Regions from separate parts of the Homo sapiens genome. Here all the other regions are linked to region 4. The links are contacts of gene promoters, found by promoter capture Hi-C in blood cells and fetal thymus (Javierre and others, 2016). All regions are on one chromosome and are shown on one strand. The core of a region is centred on a gene start or on the middle of the fragment in contact, and the rest is flanking DNA. Distances in the headings are between cores, read along the strand shown. Region 1 has its middle 31 kb from the start of ITSN2. Region 2 overlaps ATAD2B (ATPase family AAA domain containing 2B). Region 3 overlaps ATAD2B (ATPase family AAA domain containing 2B). Region 4 holds the start of SF3B6 (splicing factor 3b subunit 6). Region 5 has its middle 9.7 kb from the start of ITSN2.

Region 1 (3,701 bases), core at 991-3,490, 310 kb before region 4:
GAAAGAATAATTACTGTAACCTGGTAAGAACTCCAGGCATAGGAGAAAGTCACCCTAGGGGAGCCATGGAGTTAGGTACAAGTTTTCTGCCACTACCAACACAGCAGCCTCCAGGGAAGAGGCACATAAAAAGGGGGCACAGCAATGGCAATAAATGCGCTTACATCTATTATTCTATCCCCTCCCACTCTGCATTCTTCTTCCAGTCACTCCAGTTAGCTGAATCGAACTGGATGCCAAAAATCAAAGGAGTGCAAGTCCATAGGTGTTATCTTCTCAGGATACGGAGCGGGGCAGAAAAATATGGCTAATGGATGTGGAGGGACAAAACACAGAACGAACACAGGTGCAGACAAGCAATGTCAGCAGATTTCTGGAAGATAGAAATTACTAGTGTTACTCAAATTATGAAAGCTTAAAACCAAGAGTATGCTAATGAGAAGAAAACTGATATTGCCAGAGGATCTTGGACATGCTCAGAATTTGGAGGCACCAGGTATCTCTAAAGGCAGAAATTCATGTTACAGATGAAAAGAGAAGGATCCATTGAAAAACCTTACATGGCTCACTCAGACCCCTAGAACTCCATTTTTCTTTTCTTTTCTTTTTTTTTTTTTTTTTTTTTTTTGAGACAGAGTCTTACTTTGTTGCCTACCCAGGCTAGAGTACAGTGGTGTGATCTCAGCTCACTGCAACCTCTGCCTCCCAGGTTCAAGCGATTCTCCTGCCTCAGCCTCCTGTGTAGCTGGGACTACAGGTGTGCACCACAACACCTGGCTAATTTTTTATATTTTTGGCAGGGACAGGGTTTTGCCATGTTGGCCAGGCTGGTCTCGAACTCCTGACCTCAAGTGATCCACCTGCCGCAGCCTCCCAAAGTGCTGGGATTACAGGCACGAACCACCGGCCCCGGCCAGAACTCCTTTTTCAAAGACAGATGGACCTTCTTTCCCACTCCAGCAGAAGACTGACTGTGTGTTAAGAAACTTACAGCATCTAAACATAGGGATACCAGGCATAGCTGAAGGCAATAGGAATTATCAACATTCAGAGGGGTATCACCATTATATTGCTAAGTTTAAGGTTGAACTAGTAATTATTACATAGAAAACTGCTAAAACAACCCACAGGGCAATTATTAATTCTAATATGAATAAAAATTTATCTTATCAGTATTATATTACTTGGCTTAACATTGAGCAAGTGTTATATAGTGAGATAATATAAACAGTATAAATATTGATATAAACAAAAATGTACTACAAATATATTGGGAGTATGAAGAGAGGGAAGGAGGTTTTAAGTGTGCTAAATTTTGTGACTCCATAATAGAACGTCAATAGATAACATATAAATAAAAATATGAGAGGTCAAGCATGGTGGTTCATGCCTGTAATCCCAACACTTTGGAAGGCCGAGGCAGGAGGATCACCTGAGCCCAGGAGTTAGAAACCAGCCTGTTCAACATAGTGAGACCCTGTCTTTACAAAAGAAAAATTAAAAATTAGCTAGGCATAGTGGTGCACAATTGCAGTCCCAGCTACTCAGGAGGTTGAGGTGGGAAGATCACTTGAACCCAGGAGTTCAAGGCCGCAGTGAACCATGATCACGCCACTGCCCTCCAGCCTGTGCAACAGAGAGTGATCCTGTCTCAAAAAAAAAAGTGTGTGTGTATATATGAATATACATATATATGTACATATGAAAATTATGTGTGTATATCTATATATATGAATATTTTTAGAAATATTTTTAGAAAAGTAGATGTAAATAGAAGAAACAGCTGAAAGAATTAAAAGTTTTTCTTCCTGAGGGGCAGGTTTCAGGGTGGAAATGGTGGTATAGTGTTCTACTATTGTCATTACAAGCTTTGTCATTGTGTTAGACTTTTTAAAATTATGTGTATATCTCACTTTGACAAAAATTATTATTATTATTTTTTAGAGACAGGGTCTCACCCAGGCTGGAGGGCAATGGCATGATCATGGCTCACTGCAACTTTGACCTCCTAGGCTCAAGGGGTCCTCCTCCCTCAGCCTCCCAAGTAGCTGGGATCACAGGTGCATGCCACCATATCCAGCGAATTTCTTATTTTTTGTAGAGATGATGTCTGTCTACATTGCCCAGGCTGGTCTCAAACTCCTGGGCCCAAGTGATTTTCCTGCCTCCACCTACCAAAGTGCTGGGATTACAGGCATGAGCCACTGCACCCAACTGGCAAAACTAAAATTGACATTTAAACAAAAGAAGAAAGGGATATATGTATTGCCTACTTAAAACAACAAACAAACAAACCCTTTTGGAGAAATGTGACAGAATCCAAAACTTCTACAAGGTATCTTTTACAATATCCAAGGTACAATCTGAAATTACTAGACATAAAAATGAAATGTGACCCCAGTACTCAAGAGTCTGATGCTGACATGCATCAAATGTTGAGTTATAACAAAGACTTTAAAGCAGCTATTAAAATTGTGCCAAACAGAGTACATATATAAAGGAAAATATTACTCATAATTAATGAAAGAAAATACAAGCAGAGAAATAAAAACTATAGTAACCAAATGTAAATTATACAATTGAAAAGTTTAATATCTGAAATTTAAAGCTTTACTGGACAGGCTTAGAAGCAGATTGAAGGTGACAGGAGAAAAAAGTCAGAAAACTTGATGAGAAATCAATAAAAATTACTCAATCTAAGTAACAGACAGAAAATGGATGGGAGAGGGCGGGAATGAATAGACTCTCAGGAAACTGAGGGGAAATAGCAAAAGAGCTAAAATATGTGTAACTGGAGTCTCAGAAGTAAGGAAGAGAATATGGGACAGAAAAATTATTTTGAAGAAAAAGAGGTTGAAATTTTCTAAATAGGTTGAAAGATAAATTTATAGATTTAAGAAGCTAAGTAACCCTCTCCCCACCAAAAAAAAAAATATGAAGAAAACCATACCTGCACACAGTATAGTCAAAATGCTGAAAACCAAAGATAAAGAGAAAATCTTGAAAGCCAGAGAAAACAACTCACTATATGCAGGGAATGATGATACAAATGAATGCTGTTTCTTCTTATAAATAATAGATATCAGAAGACAGTGAAACAATATCTTCAAGTATAGGATCAGAAAAAAGTAAATCAATCCAGAATTCTATAGCCAGCAAAACATCCTTTAAGAATGAAGGCAGCCGGGTGTGGTAGCTCACGCCTGTAACCCAGCACTTTAGGAGGCCGAGGCAGGTGGATCACCTGAGGTCAGGAGTTTGAGACCAGCCTGGCCAACATGGTGAAACCCCGTCTATACTAAAAATATAAAAATTAGCTGGGCATGGTGGCAGGTGCCTGTAATCCCAGCTACTCGGGAGGCTGAGGCAGGAGAATCACTTGAACCCGGGAGACAGAGGTTTCAGTGAGCCAAGATAGCGCCACTGCAGTCCAGCCTGAGCGACACAGCAAGACTCCGTCTCAAAAAAAAAAAAAAAAAGAAGGCAAAATGAAAAGAAAAGGAGGGGAACATCACTAATCATTAGGGGATTGCAAATCAAAACTACAGTGAGATACCACTTCACACTATTAGGATGGCTACTCTAAACAAAACAAACTCCAGGATTGGACATAGTGGCTCAAGCCAGTAATCCTAGCATTTTGGGAGGCTGCAGCAGGCAGATCCCTTGAGCTCAGGAGTTTGAGACCAGCCTGAACAACA
Region 2 (3,415 bases), core at 71-2,570, 300 kb after region 4:
AATTAGCCAGGCGTGGTGGCGCATGCTTGTGGTCCTATTAATAGCTGCTCGGGGCACTGAGGCAGAGAGGACTGTTTGAGGCCAGGAGGTTGACGCTGCTATAAGGCATGATCATGCCACTGCACTCTAGCTTGGGTGACAGAGTGAGACCTTGTCCCCCACCCCCATCCCCCCAAAAAAGCAGTGTTCCCTCTCAAATGCAGATTTTTTTAAAAGAATATATTCCTTGTCTTCCATACTAGTGGGAAATTTTTATGGATTTTTTTTCTTCATTTATTCTTTTTTCTTGCTTAATTTAGGGTAGTGTTGGGATAGAAGATACACTTTATAAAAAGCAGAAAGACCAATCATTGAGTTATTTTAGAGACAATATGCCAGATCCATACCTTTAGATTTAATCTTACCTTTTTTTTTAGTTTCTCTTCATTCAAGCCGAGGTAGAAAGCCAGTGGTGGAAAGCTGTGGTATTGCATAGGCTACAAACATTGTATTGTCAACTTGAAAGTATAGCTACTTCTAAGGATGTTGATGTTCATTGTAGTTTTTTATTTATAGTAGCTAAAATTAGAAGCAACTTAAAGCTTCCAAAAAGAGAACAATACTTTTGAAAAATTAAGGCACATCCTACTTTGGATTGTTGCACAACTATTAAAGTTTGGTTTTCAAAGAGTGTTTAAAAGACACCAGGAGACTTCTTCTTTTCTTCTTCTGGCCAAGATGAAGTAAAAGGGACTCGATTTATTTACCCCCTCACATGACACAATGAAAAAAAAAATGAACAAAATATATTTAAAGAAAAACTGTTTGGAAGGCATTGGACACCAGGCAACACAGGACAGTGATTCCCAAAAGATAGAAACAAATAAGAGGAGTAGTGTGGTTGCCTGGAGACAATTTCCAGATACCAGCCCCAGGAGGAGCAGCCCAGGCATATTCTGGAGGTCCTCTGAACTGGGGAGCCAGACCTGGAATCTGAAGAGGCCACAGTGGTTTGGGTTTGCAGGGCAGATTACCAGAAAGAAGAAAGCTGCACAGAGAGAACACTCTGGCTATCTCCAGGAGGTCCTACCCTAGTGTTTAACTAAGTACTGGTTAGTGCATATGTGTGAGAAAACTATCTGAGGCCAGAGAAGGAGAGGGAATATTCCTTAAAGTTCACACAGGGGCCGCAATAGAGTTAGAGCTAATAAACCAACAAGGAGATAAAATGGAATCATAAAAAGGTATACAGTAATTCCAAGAGAAGTGAGAAAAAGAGGAAAAAGGGAACAAAAAACATATAGGCCAAGTAGAAAATAAATAGCAACCATATCAATAATCACATACATCACATTAAAAGTAGATGCTCTAAACCAGGGGTCAGCAGACTATCATCAAGCTGACAGCCTGTTTTTGTAAGTCAAATTTTTTTACTGGAACAAAATTATTCCCCCTATCCCCGCTTTTCAGTTCAGTGATAAATGATGTCTACAAAAAGCCTACATTTCTCATCATACTAGTGATGAAAGAGTAAGTACTTTCTCCTTAAGATCAGAAACATGACCAGGATGTCTGCTCTTACCACTTCTATCAACATTAAACTGGAGCTTTCAGCCAATGCAGTAAGGTAAGAAAAAGAAATAAAGGCATCCCTACTTCCAGAAAGAAAGAAGTAAACCTGTTGTTGTTTGTAGACGTATGATGTCTACATAGAAAATCCTATGGAATATTTAAAGAAGTTATTAGAACATGTAAGTGAAGTTAGGGTTGCAGGAGACAGGATCAGCATGTAAAACACTTGTTTTTCTATATACTAGCAACAAACAGGAAATTGAAATAACATCAAAAAATAACATGAAATATAGATAAATCTGACAAAAGGCATGTAAGACTTATACATTGAAAACTATAAAATATTAGTGAGATAAAGAAGACCCAAATAAATGGAGATATATGTCATGGCTTATGGATTGGAAGACTCAACATTATGAAAATGTAATTTCTCTCCAGATTGAACCACAGGTTCAACACCATCCTATCAGAATTCCAGCAGGCATTTGATAGAAATTGACAAGCTTATTCTAAAATTCATATGAGGATGAAAAGGACCTAGAGTCAAAACAACTTTGGAAAATAAAAACAGCTGGAAGACTTAATACTACTTTATTGTAAGACTTAAAAAGTTACAGTAATCTAGACAGTGTATGTTGGCATGAAGTTTGACAAATAGGTCAATGGAATAGGATAGAGTCCTGAAATAGATGCACACATAGAGGGTCAATTGCTTTTTGACAAAGATGTAAAGTCAGTTCAATGAAGAAAGTAGATTAAATTTCAATAGACAGTGTTGGAACAATTGGATATCAGCATGCAAAAAAAGACTTTGTATGCAGAAGTTGACTCACAATGGATCACATACCTGTATACAAGAACTTAAAACCTATAGCCAGAATATTAAGTCTCAGAATTTAATAATAACCCAATTTAAATAATGGACATAAGAGCTGAAGACACTTTACCAAATAAGATATACAGAAGACAAATACACACATGAAAAGATACTCATCCTCATTAATCTTTTTATTTATTTATTTATTTGTTTATTTATTTTTTGGAGACAGAGTTGCTCTGTCACCTAGGCTGGAGTGCAGTGGCATGATCTCAGCTCATTGCAACCTCCGCCTCCTGGGTTTAAGCAATTCTCCTGCCTCAGCCTCCCGAGTAGCTGAGATTGTAGGCACACACCACCATGCCCAGCTATTTTTTTTTTTTGTATTTTTAGTAGAGATGGGGTTTCACCATTTTGGCCAGGCTGGTCTCGAACTCCTGACCTCAGGTTACCCGCCCGCCTCGGCCTTCCAAAGTGCTGGGATTACAGATGTGAGCTACTGTGTCCGGTCAACCTCATTAATCTTTAGTGAAATGCAAATTAAGACCACAGTGAGGCCGGGTACAGTTGCTCACGCCTGTAATCCTAGCACTTTGGGAGGCCAAGGTGGGTGGATCACCTGAGGTCAGGAGTTGGAGACCAGCCTGGCCAACATGGTGAATCCCTGTCTCTACTAAATATACAAAAATCAGCTGGGTGGGGTGGCACACACCTGTAATCCCAGCTACTCAGGAGGCAGAGGATGCAGTGAGCCCAGATTATGCCACTGCACTCCAGCCTGGGCGACAGAATGAGACCCTGTCTCAAAAAAAAAAAAAAAAAAAAACCCACAGTGAGACACCATTAAACACTTGTAATAATCGTCTAAAACTGAAAAGACCATATCAAATGTAATCAAGGATGTAGAGTAACAGGAACTATGATGCACTGTGGTAGGAATGTAAAATGAAACAGCTGACTTGGAAAACAGTCTAGAAGTTTCTTAGAATGTTTAACATATGTATTATAGTCATCCCTCCATATGTGTGCTTTGAAACCTGTGGATAC
Region 3 (3,343 bases), core at 634-3,133, 280 kb after region 4:
TTTTGTTTTATGTGTTTTATGTTCTTTCTATATTTTGGAAAAATATATTTTTCAAAAGAATATATGTTTTATTCTTTTAATGTTAGTGTTAATATCTAATGGGCTTATTTAAAATCTGTAAATATTGATGCATATAGCTCACATACATAAAAGCTTTTTTGGGGTCCTGAGACCAAAAAGTTTGTGCACCTCTGGTCTCTAGACCACTAGCACTTTCAGGTGTTACTGGCCATCATTTCTCCCATTCCTAGCACAGTGCTAACACATTGGAATTACTCTGTAAAAGTTTGCTGCATGAAAAAAGGAACTAACAGTTGAATCATCACGTAGGATTTAAGTAACCCTTGCCCAGCCTCACTCGCTTTCTGCATAATTCTTTCTTTTAAAATATTTTTTCTTTAAATTTTTGACCACTTGAGAACCATGCAGAATTGTAGTGTAAGTAAATTTACTTTTATAAACCCTTTCTGAAGATACTTGGAGAATTTTATTTGAGATATATGGGAATTGCAAGGTATTTATGGAGAATTAGAGAAGAGAGTTAATTTAAGGTTGAGCACAGAAAAAAGACTCTTAAGGGAGGAAGCAAATAAATTAGAGATATTTGTAGGAAGGAATGTAAACCTTGGCCAGAATTGTATTTCTGTTTCTGAAGACATTCACAGTATCTGCTTTGTTATTAAATTATTATGAGCAGGTTTAAGATTATATAATTCAGTATATTGGAAATGAATTTTAAAGAAATATTCCTCAGCTATGCTGATGAAAGTAAGATTACATATAGCATTTTGTTATCTTAAATGTTTCTTGTCATTGTCTCTCTAGGTTTATGGTAGGACCTGGGAGGGGAAAATCAGTAACTTCAATTAGAAAAATCAAGTAGGGGCATTGAAAACTCAGATTAATGATCATAAGATACAAGGGAACTGTTTTAATATTAATATTTTGGTAATAAAACAATTACGTGATTCTTAAAATTTAAGAGGAAGGAAATCTTCTCAAGTTTTTTTTTTTTTTTTTTTTTTTTTTTTGAGACAGAGTCTCTCGCTGTTGCCCAGGCTGGAGTGCAGTGGCACAATCTCGGCTCACTGCAAGCTCTGCCTCCCGGGTTCACGCCATTCTTCTGCCTAAGCCTCCTGGAGTAGCTGGGACTAAAGGCGCCCGCCACCACGCCCAGCTAATTTTTTGTATTTTTAGTAGAGAAGGGATTTCACTGTGTTAGCCAGTATGGTCTTGATCTCCTGACTTCGTGATCCACCCACCTCAGCCTCCCAAAGTGTTGGGATTACAGGTGTGAGCCACCGTGCCCGGCCACAAGTTTTTTTTCCCTAAGTGAAATAGGATAGTAGGTAAACATAGTTACTATTTTGAGATATGTAAACTATTTCTATTTTTATTTAATGGGTTGATATCCTATTTTGTTTTGAGCAAAGCAAATTTTATTTATGAAAGCTTTCTTAGGTTTATTTCTGACCTCTTTTTCACACCTTTTGTTATTGAGATCTTAAGTTCTTTTTTTTTTTTTTAGATCTTAAGTTCTTAACCATTAATTTTTCTTATTACAAAGGTTGCAGGAACCCTACCTTCAAAACTGGGGACTAACAATTCTAAGGAATGTGTTAATAAATTCGATAAAACAAAAAGGTTGGCCAGGTGCCATAGCTCATGCCTGTAATCCCAGCACTTTGGGAGGCTGAGGCTGGTGGATCACGAGGTCAGGAGATCGAGACCATCCTGGCCAACGTAGTGAAACCCCGTCTCTACTAAAAATACAAAAATTAGGCTGGGCGTGGTGGCACGCTGCTTGGGAGACTGAGGCAGGAGAATGGCGTGAACCCAGGAGGCGGAGCTTGCAGTGAGCCGAGATTGCACCACTGCACTCCAGCCTGGGCGACAGAGCAAGACTCCGTCTCAAAAAAAAAAAAAGATGGCTGTTATTAAAAAAAAACAGAAATTAACAAATGTTGATGAGGATGTGGAAAAAGGAGAACCTTTTTGCATTGCTGGTGGGAATGTAAAATTGTATAGCCACTGTGGAAAACAGTATGACATTATCTTAAATATATAAATGCCATATGATCCAGCCAATCAAGTTCTAGGTACTTACTCAAAAGAATTGAAAGCAGGGACTTGAACAGGTATTTGCACACCCATGTTCACAACAGCATCATTCATAGTAACCAAAAGGTGGAAACATCCTCAGTGTCCATTGATAGTTGAAAGGATAAACAAAATGTAGCATATACAATGGAACATTATTTAGCCTTAAAAAGGAGAAAATTTTGATGCATGTTGTAACATGGATGAAGCTTGAAGACATTATGCTAACTTAGTCATAGGACAAATTTTGTATAATTCCTTTTATATGAGGTTCCTTAGAGTATATGTAAATGGATGATAAGTGTATGAAAAGATGCTCATTATCAGTCATTCAGGAATGAAATACCACTGCAACCCACTAAAATATAGGTTGGGCAAGAGTAATTGCGTTTTTTGCCATTGAAAGCTGCAAAAAAAAAAAAAAAGTGCTTTTGCACCAACCTAATAGCTGTAATCAAAAATAAAGAATACCAAGTATTGGCAAGGATATAGAAACTGGAGTCCTTATATACTGCTGGTGGGATTGTAAAATGGTGCAGCCACTTTCCAAAGTTAAACATAAATTTATGGTATGACTCAGCAATTCCACTCCTAGTTATCTACACAAAAGAAATGAAAACATACTTTCACAGAAAGACATTTGTATGGGAATGTTTCTAGTTGTTGTACTCATACTAGCAAAAAGTGGAAACAATCCAAATGTTCCTTAATTGGTGAATGGCTAAACAAAATGTGATGAAATACTATTCAGCAATAAATGGAATGAAATACTAATACATACTACAACTTGGAAAAACCTGAAGTTTTAAGTGACAGAAGCCAGGCATAAAAGACTGTCAGTTGTATGATACAAAATGTCTAGAAGAGGCAATTCTCTAGAGACAGAAAGCATTATCAGTGGTTGTTAGGCTGGGACATGGGAGTGGGAGTGGGGATTGACTGCAGATAGGCCTGAGGAAACTTTTTGGGGTAATGGAAATGTTCTAAAATGTGCTTGTGATGGCTACACATCTGTAAAAATTTACTGAACATTATTGAACTGTTTTTTCAGAAATATTGGAAGGTGTGCCTAAGTGCATCTGGGAAAGTTAGGGAAGGCATCACACAGAAAGCATCAGCTTGAGTGGTGCATTAAAGAAGGGGTCAGGAATGAGTGAATACTATGTATCACAACCAGTGTGAACCAATGTGAAACAGAGCGTGATTTGTTCTGGGAATTATGGAAGGCTTGTCTTTGGTACAC
Region 4 (3,711 bases), core at 1,196-3,695:
CTTTTTTCACTAAGCCTATATGAGTCCTATCTGTGGCTGCCTCCTGGGTAAAGACACTTTATTTAAAAACAATTCTTAGGCTGTCAGTGACACTAACATTTTACTCCAGGCTTCAGTCTTTATCTGGTACAGAACAGAAGTTACACATTTGGAGGTACAAGGGAGCCAGAGATCACCTGTAACCCCCCTTTAGCTCCTATGTGGTCTCTTCAGCTGGCTCTAGAAACCAAATTGATACCAGCAGATTGACAGGAGAAAAGCATGTACTTTTTTTTTTTTTTTTTTTTTTTATGGAGACAGGGTCTTACTCTGTCACCCAGGCTGGAGTGCAATGGCACAATCAGCCTCCTGGGTAGCTAAGACTGAAGGCATACCACCATGCCTGGCTTGTATTTTTTATAGAGACAGGTTTTCACCATGTTGCCCAGGCTGATCTCAAACTCCCAGGCTCAAGTGATTCGGCCAAAGTAAGATGCTTTTGTAATTTTTAGACAAAGAACAATAAATTTGAGAAGAAATAAGACAAAATCTGGCTAGGGATAGTAAATTTCTAGGGAAGTCACTAGGAGATATATGGGGGTGGGGGGTGTAAAACTAGTGGAAGATAAGGGTTACTTCCTTAAGTGTATTTATTCAGTTCCATTGCAGCCCCGTTTCCAGTCTCTGGTGATAAGGGCTTTTTGCCCTAGTATGGGGAGGGTACCCCTCTCAGAGGAATCTTTATGACTTGCTACATGCAAGAAGAGACAGGTCAGCTAGCCTTTTCTGAAACTACAATTTCTCCAATGCTTTCACCTCAAAATTAACAATATACCTATCGGACATATTCTGAGATGGCACATGACTCCTTCAAGGGTATTTCACACACATGCTAGGAAGTGAGGGGTTAAGTGTCCCTGTGTGCTTTTTCAGATACGTGGCTTCAGAGAGAGCAAGAAGGCTGAGGAGGATGAGGAGGGCAGGGTGAGGCTCTCTCCCCAGGCTGATGATCTCCTTTCCCTTGTCTTAGTACAAGCAAATGCTGGTGAATGCTTTCACGGAGCAAATTCTGCCTCACTTCTCCACGGAGGGCCCCCAACGTCTGCTGCCGGTTCTGGACAGAATCTACCCAGTGACCGAAATCCAGGAGGCCCATAAGTACATGGAGGCCAACAAGAACATAGGCAAGATCGTCCTGGAACTGCCCCAGTGAAGGAGGATGGGGCAGGACAGGACGCGGCCACCCCAGGCCTTTCCAGAGCAAACCTGGAGAAGATTCACAATAGACAGGCCAAGAAACCCGGTGCTTCCTCCAGAGCCGTTTAAAGCTGATATGAGGAAATAAAGAGTGAACTGGAAGGGTGGCACGCGGACTGGGGCCGCCGCGGCGGGGTTGAGGTGGGAGTCCGGACGGGCGTCGCAGCGGGGATTACTGAGGCCCGATCAGCTGACGCTCAACCTGAGGGCCCCTCCAGGGACGGAGATTCTGGGTATAGTTACAGCGTCAGCCGTGACACAAGCCGCCAGAACCCCACATATTCCGCCTTGCGCACAGCTAGAGGCCCAGGCCCACCACCTCCGGCACCTGCCCGCGCGCCCCGCAACCAGTGGGCACCACAGCAGGCCCCAGCCCTGCCCGCTACTCACCTGGGCCCCACCCCACCTCTCGCCGCCCTCCTCAGGCCCCACCACCTCCCGCTACACATCTGAGCCCCGCCCCACCTCCACCACTTTCCTCAGCCCCAACCACCTCCTGCTACACTTCTGGGCCCCGCCGCACCTCCACCACCCTCCTCAGGCCCCGATCCCTTCCGCTACTCACCTGGGTCCCGCCCCAGCTCAGTCCTCCTCAGGCCCCGCCTTCGCCCGCTACTCACCTGGGCCCCACCCCACCTCTCGCCACCCTCCTCAGGCCCCACCACCTCCCGCTACACATCTGGGCCCCGCCCCACCGCCACCACCCTCCTCAGGCCCCGCCCCTTCCATTACTCACTTGGGTCCCGCCCCAGCTCACCGCCTTGCTCAGGCCCGGCTCCCTCCCGGATACTCACTTGGGCCCCACCCCAGCTCTCCGCACCCTCCTCAGGCCCCGCCCCCTCCCGCTACTCACCTGGGTCCCGCCCTACCTGTCATAACCCTGCTCAAGCCCCGCCTCCTCCGCTCCCCAGTTACTCACCTGAGACCCGCCCCAGCTCTCCGCCCTCCTCAGGCCCCGCCCTCTCCACCCGGGTTCCTCTGCTCAGGGCCTCCCCGACCGGAACATCTCGCCTTTTGGAGGCTACGCCCCGCCCTTTACGGTACAGAGCCCGGAAGTGTCTTGGACTCTCGCCTTTCCATCTTCCGGCCTCGAGTCTCGCTCAGGCTCGGTTTTACCCCGGAGTCTATTCGAAGGGGGCTGCTACGTCAGCGCGTCTCAGCGTAAGACGGCGCTATTCCGCTGTAACAGCTTCCGGCGGGTCCTGGATGTTGATGTCCTGCATCTAACGCGGTGTAACCCCCGAAGCCGAGCGAGCTCCGGAGGAATTTCAGTATCTGCTACGGTAACTTCATCAGCCCGCCAAGATGGCGATGCAAGCGGCCAAGAGGGCGAACGTGAGTATCGGGTGTTCTGCGGAGGGTGGGAGAACTTCGGGTTTGACTTTCTTAGCGGCGTGGATCGGAGCATTCTTGCTCCTCCTCCGTCCCCAGAGCGGAGAACTCCAGAATTCCTATCCTGTCAGCGAAGACACTATCCGGCCCCATCCTCAGAGATATGCTCCTTGAGCCACATTTCTGTCCCCACCCCTTTTGAGAGTTCCTCAGTCTCTACCCTAGTGTCAGTGATAGTGTTACCCCTATAGCCTCTTTGCTTGACCCGCACCTAAGGACCTGGCGTTAGGATTATCTCCTTGACTTAAAGTCGATATCTCAGAAGAGTCCTCAACTAACTTAATGGTTCACCAACAACTAGGACCTGGGATTCCCCTCAGATCATGGTGCTTTTCGGATCCTTCATTAACACATTAATTAAAACAATATTTTTTGAGCACCTACTATGTATTCTGCTTGCCATGTGGGACATAATTCATCAATTATATTTATTGAATAGCTACTATGTGCCAGACACTAGTCTTACGTATTGGGAATACAGCAGTGAATAAAACAAGTCCTTCTGCTTACATTCTAGTGTTTGAGAGTACAGTGTTACGGAAACTTTTAAAAAAAAAAAACTCAAAAAAGAGATTAGTCAACAGTAAAACGCTTAGAGGTGTAAGATGAAGTTAGGCCGAGTGAGGTGGCTCATGCCTGTAATCCCCGCACTTTTGGAGGCTGAGGTGGGAGGATTGCTTGAGCCCAGGAATTCAAGGCTGCCTTGAGCCATGATTGTGCCACTGCGCAGCACTTCAGCCCAGGAGACAGAGCAAGACCCTGACTCAAAAAAAAAAAAAAAAACAGAAAGAAAGAAAGAAAGAAAGAAAAGACAAGCAATTGACCATTGTATATGTAAATGGAGACTTTTGGTGACCTTGATGATAGGAATCATTTCAGTGGATGAAAACTTGATTGCAGTGGGGTGAAAAGATGGTGGAAGTTGAGAAAATGGAAACAGCAAAGACACTCTGTCCATGAGTTCTCATTTAAATAGGAAGTAGGGAAATTGGATGATAGTTGACTTTTTTTTTTGAGATGGACTCTCACTCTGTCACCCAGGCTGGAGTGCAGTGGCACAGTCTTGGCTCACTGCAACCTCTG
Region 5 (3,538 bases), core at 25-2,524, 290 kb before region 4:
TGATGGATCACGAGGTCAGGAGATTGAGACCATCCTGGCTAACACGGTGAAACCCCGTCTCTACTAAAATTACAAAAAATTAGCTGGGTGTGGTGGCAGGTGCCTGTAGTCCCAGCTACTTGGGAGGCTGAGGCAGGAGAATGGCTTGAACCCGAGAGGTGGAGCTTGCAGTGAGCTGACATGTGCCACTGCACTTCAGCCTGGGCGACAGAGCAAGACTCTGTCTCAAAAAAAAACAAAAACAAAAAACAATGTGTTGAACTGGGCGCAGTGGCTCACATCTGTAATCCCAGCACTTTGGGAGCCCGAGGCGGGCGGATCACAAGGTCAAGAGATCGAGGCCATCCTGGCCAACATGGTGAAACCCTGTCTCTACTAAAAATACAAAAATTAGCTGGGCGTGGTGGCACATGCCTGTAGTCCTAGCTACTCAGGAGGCTGAGGCAGGAGAATCACTCGAACCTGGGAGGGAGAGGTTGCAGTGAGCCAAGACTGCGCCACTGCATTCCAGCCTGGTGACAGAGTGAGACTCTATCTCAAAAAAAAAAAAAAAAAAGTGTTGAAATAGTTATCAAGCAATTTTTTTGTTTTTGTTTTTGGGTTTTGAGACAACGTCTTGCTCTGTTGCCCAGGCTGGAGTTCAGTGACATGATCCTGACCCATTGCAACCTTGAATTTCTGGGCTCAAGCCATCCTCCTGCCTCAGCCTCCCAAGTAGCTGGGACTACAGACACACATCACTACACCTGGCTAAGTTATTTCATGTTTTTCTTTTTATTTAATTTCATACATGGGTGTTTCAGCGTTTAGGGCTTCTAAACACTGAATCCAATCTTGATGATACCAATTCCAGTATTTTTACAACTTGTTTGTTTTTGAGACAGGGTCTGGCTCTGTCCGTCAGGCTGGAGTTGCAGTGGTGTGATCACTGCTCACTGCAACCTCCGCCTCCTGAGCTCAAACCATCCTCCTACCTCATCCTTCCAGGTGGCTGGGACTACAGGCACATGCCATCACGTCCAGCTAATTTTTTTTTTTTTTTGTAGCGATGGGATTTCACCATGTTGTCCAGGCTGGTCTTGAATTCCTGTGCTCAAGTGATCCACCTGCCTTGGCCTCCCAAAGTGCTAGGATTACAGGTGTGAGCCACTGTGCCCAGCCTTTTACAGTTTTTAAATTAGAATCACATGATGTTCATGTTCATTAGGCAATTTATATTTGTGTATTCTAAATTTCAACATGTCTCAGCCATGGGATACATTCCTGACTCATTTAAGAAGCTATGAAAAGCGTTCATCAGACACCAAAATAGCTCTTAAAGTTAATTATACTTAGAGTCAGGATTTTGTGCCAAACACTCAATACCCAACCATTAATTATTATTTTCTAAATATTGAGAGTGTAGTATAAGCTGATAAGTACATGTCAAAACCTGGTCCCTGCCCCAAGGCTTACCCTATAAATGACAAAACTGAATCCATTTAGACTACACACTACATCAAATTAAAAGCAAGGCTAACTTGAAAGGCACAAAGTTCAAGGTCCTTTCTTTTTCTTTTTTTTTTTTTTGAGACAGAGTCTCCCTCTGTTGCCCAGGCTGGAGTGCAGTGCCGCGATCTCGGCTCACTGCAACCTCCGCCTCCCAGGTTCAAGTGATTCTCCTGCCTCAGCCTCCCAAGTAGCTGGGATTACAGGCAGCCACCACCACGCCTGGCTAATTTTTGTATTTTTCGTAGAAATGGAGTTTCACCATATTGGCCAGGCTGATCTTGAACTCCCAACCTCAGGTAATCCACCCGCCTCGGTCTCCCAAAGTGCTGGGATTACAGGCACGAGCTAGTGCACCCGGCCAGTTCTTTCTGTAAATCCCTAAGAAGTTACTATAATTCTAACCAGAATTTTTTGATTTGAAGGTAGAATTTTATATTTTTAATCTTCTAACAATGACATTGCTGCTGTTCCAGGAAAGAACATTGAACTTAAGAAGACAATGCTAGAGTTGTAATACAATTTCAGTTACGCTCTCCTGTTGTTCCAAATGACAAAATCCAATAGTAAAAGAAAGCCCTTTGCTATCACCTAGATTCTTCCTAAGCATCTAAAGGAAGTAAAATATATCAATCCATCTTAGCTGGGTGTGGTGGCATGTACCTGTAGTCCCAGTTACTCGGGAGGCTGAGGCAGAAGAATTGCTTGAACCCGGGAGGTGGAGGTTGCAGTGAGCCGAGATCGCACCACTGCACTCCAGCCCGGGCGACAGAGCGAGACTCCATCTCAAAAAAAAAAGAGTGATCTGCCAGGCGTGATGGCTCATGCCTGTAATCCCAGCACTTTGGGGGGCTGGCAGGAGGGTTGCTAGAGTACAGGAGTTTTAGACCAGCCTGGGCAACATGTAGAAAAAAAAAATTAGCCAGGCATGGTGGCACTCACCTGCAGTCCCAGCTACTTGGGAGGCTAAGTTGGGGGAGGATCACTTGAGTGTGGGAGGTTGAGACTGCTGTGAGCCATGATCTCACGACTGTACTTGAGGCTGGGTGACAGAATGAGATGGTGTCTCAAAAAAAAAAAAAAAATTATCTGTGCTCCACTATACATCCCACCCTCTCTCTATTGAGAAGATGAAGCACAAGTGCAGAGGTGAGACAGAGAGGGTCCCTGGACAGTGTTCAGTCCCTAATTCCATTTTGCCTGGCCCCACTCCTGTCCTTGGTGACACTGGCACACTCCACTTACCTTGTATATAATTAATTCTTTTTTTGCCTAAGCCCTTTGAGTTGATCCCCGTTATTTGCAACCAAACATTTTAACTGATACAAATACCTGGTCACTTACATACGAAATTAAGAGTTTTATGTTTCCCTATACAAAGGCATAAGAAAAGCACCTGCTGAAATTATTGAAATGGGAAGTGAGGCTTATTCCTTTTTGAAACACATGAAAAAAAAATCTCACCACAGTGAGCCTTTGGCTTAAGGAAGCTTTGTTCAGTAGATTTCACTGAAGGAGCTGTTCTTTGCAAGGCTTTGATCACTGTCTTTGCCCAGAATAACTTTATTTTGAATGTATCAAAAGCCTTAGAAAACATTGAACTGAAAATCATAAAAATAGAGATTTTTATTATGTTTGAAGAGTTCTATTGCCTAGAACTATTCTATTACACAAGGAAAATAAACTGGGCCTCTCCCAGGATACCACCACCAGCTTTTGTTTAAACAGGTCATACAAAGTAGTAATAGATAACTTCCACCAAAAAATGCTATTATTGCTTATATCTTAGAAAAAGAAGAAACTAGACAGAACTTGGAAAAGAACCACCTGACTATTCTCATCTGGTAGGAGAATCTTAAAAATCTCCTGAAGGACTCCAGAGAATTAATCTTGCTGAAATGTAGATGGCATTATCTTATGTCATAATATTTATTTTTTTCAGCATCCAGTGACATTTAGTGAACATTTAATGGAGCCAGGCACCATGTTACTATCTTGTTTACTCTAATATCCTCTTTGCTTAGCATAGTCTTAGGCATATGAAAGGCAC

The links. Contacts are between HindIII fragments. The CHiCAGO score rates a contact against its expected background, and 5 or more counts as called.
Region 1: a fragment that was not itself captured here is called in contact with the fragment with the promoter of SF3B6 in region 4 in 1 of 17 cell types (endothelial precursors); the score reaches 6.0 in endothelial precursors.
Region 2: a fragment that was not itself captured here is called in contact with the fragment with the promoter of SF3B6 in region 4 in 3 of 17 cell types (naive B cells, monocytes and M0 macrophages); the score reaches 6.4 in naive B cells.
Region 3: a fragment that was not itself captured here is called in contact with the fragment with the promoter of SF3B6 in region 4 in 13 of 17 cell types (naive B cells, total CD8 T cells, total CD4 T cells and 10 more); the score reaches 10.8 in naive B cells.
Region 5: a fragment that was not itself captured here is called in contact with the fragment with the promoter of SF3B6 in region 4 in 3 of 17 cell types (endothelial precursors, M2 macrophages and M1 macrophages); the score reaches 6.6 in endothelial precursors.

What each region holds. Positions count from the first base shown.
Region 1 is chr2:24,389,403-24,393,103 of GRCh38, reverse strand. No RefSeq gene overlaps it. Among named protein-coding and RNA genes, the nearest start is that of ITSN2, 31 kb to the right of the region's middle. The HindIII fragment of the contact is 740 bases long and covers 1,871-2,610 here.
Region 2 is chr2:23,769,492-23,772,906 of GRCh38, reverse strand. All of the region lies in intron 22 of ATAD2B (ATPase family AAA domain containing 2B), which reads left to right. Among named protein-coding and RNA genes, the nearest start is that of ATAD2B, 160 kb to the left of the region's middle. The HindIII fragment of the contact is 1,473 bases long and covers 584-2,056 here.
Region 3 is chr2:23,790,651-23,793,993 of GRCh38, reverse strand. All of the region lies in intron 19 of ATAD2B (ATPase family AAA domain containing 2B), which reads left to right. Among named protein-coding and RNA genes, the nearest start is that of ATAD2B, 130 kb to the left of the region's middle. The HindIII fragment of the contact is 857 bases long and covers 1,455-2,311 here.
Region 4 is chr2:24,075,060-24,078,770 of GRCh38, reverse strand. SF3B6 (splicing factor 3b subunit 6) reads left to right here and starts at 2,445. Exons shown (of 4, transcript NM_016047.4): 1 at 2,445-2,571. The coding sequence starts at 2,542. It overlaps TP53I3 (tumor protein p53 inducible protein 3), which reads left to right. Exons shown (of 5, transcript NM_004881.5): 5 at 1,010-1,338. The coding sequence ends at 1,192. It also overlaps a transcript of FAM228B not described here. RefSeq lists a silencer at 1,571-2,220 and enhancers at 2,331-2,560, 2,095-2,626, 2,627-3,159. The HindIII fragment of the contact is 6,266 bases long and covers 1-3,711 here.
Region 5 is chr2:24,368,505-24,372,042 of GRCh38, reverse strand. No RefSeq gene overlaps it. Among named protein-coding and RNA genes, the nearest start is that of ITSN2, 9.7 kb to the right of the region's middle. The HindIII fragment of the contact is 3,412 bases long and covers 1-2,980 here.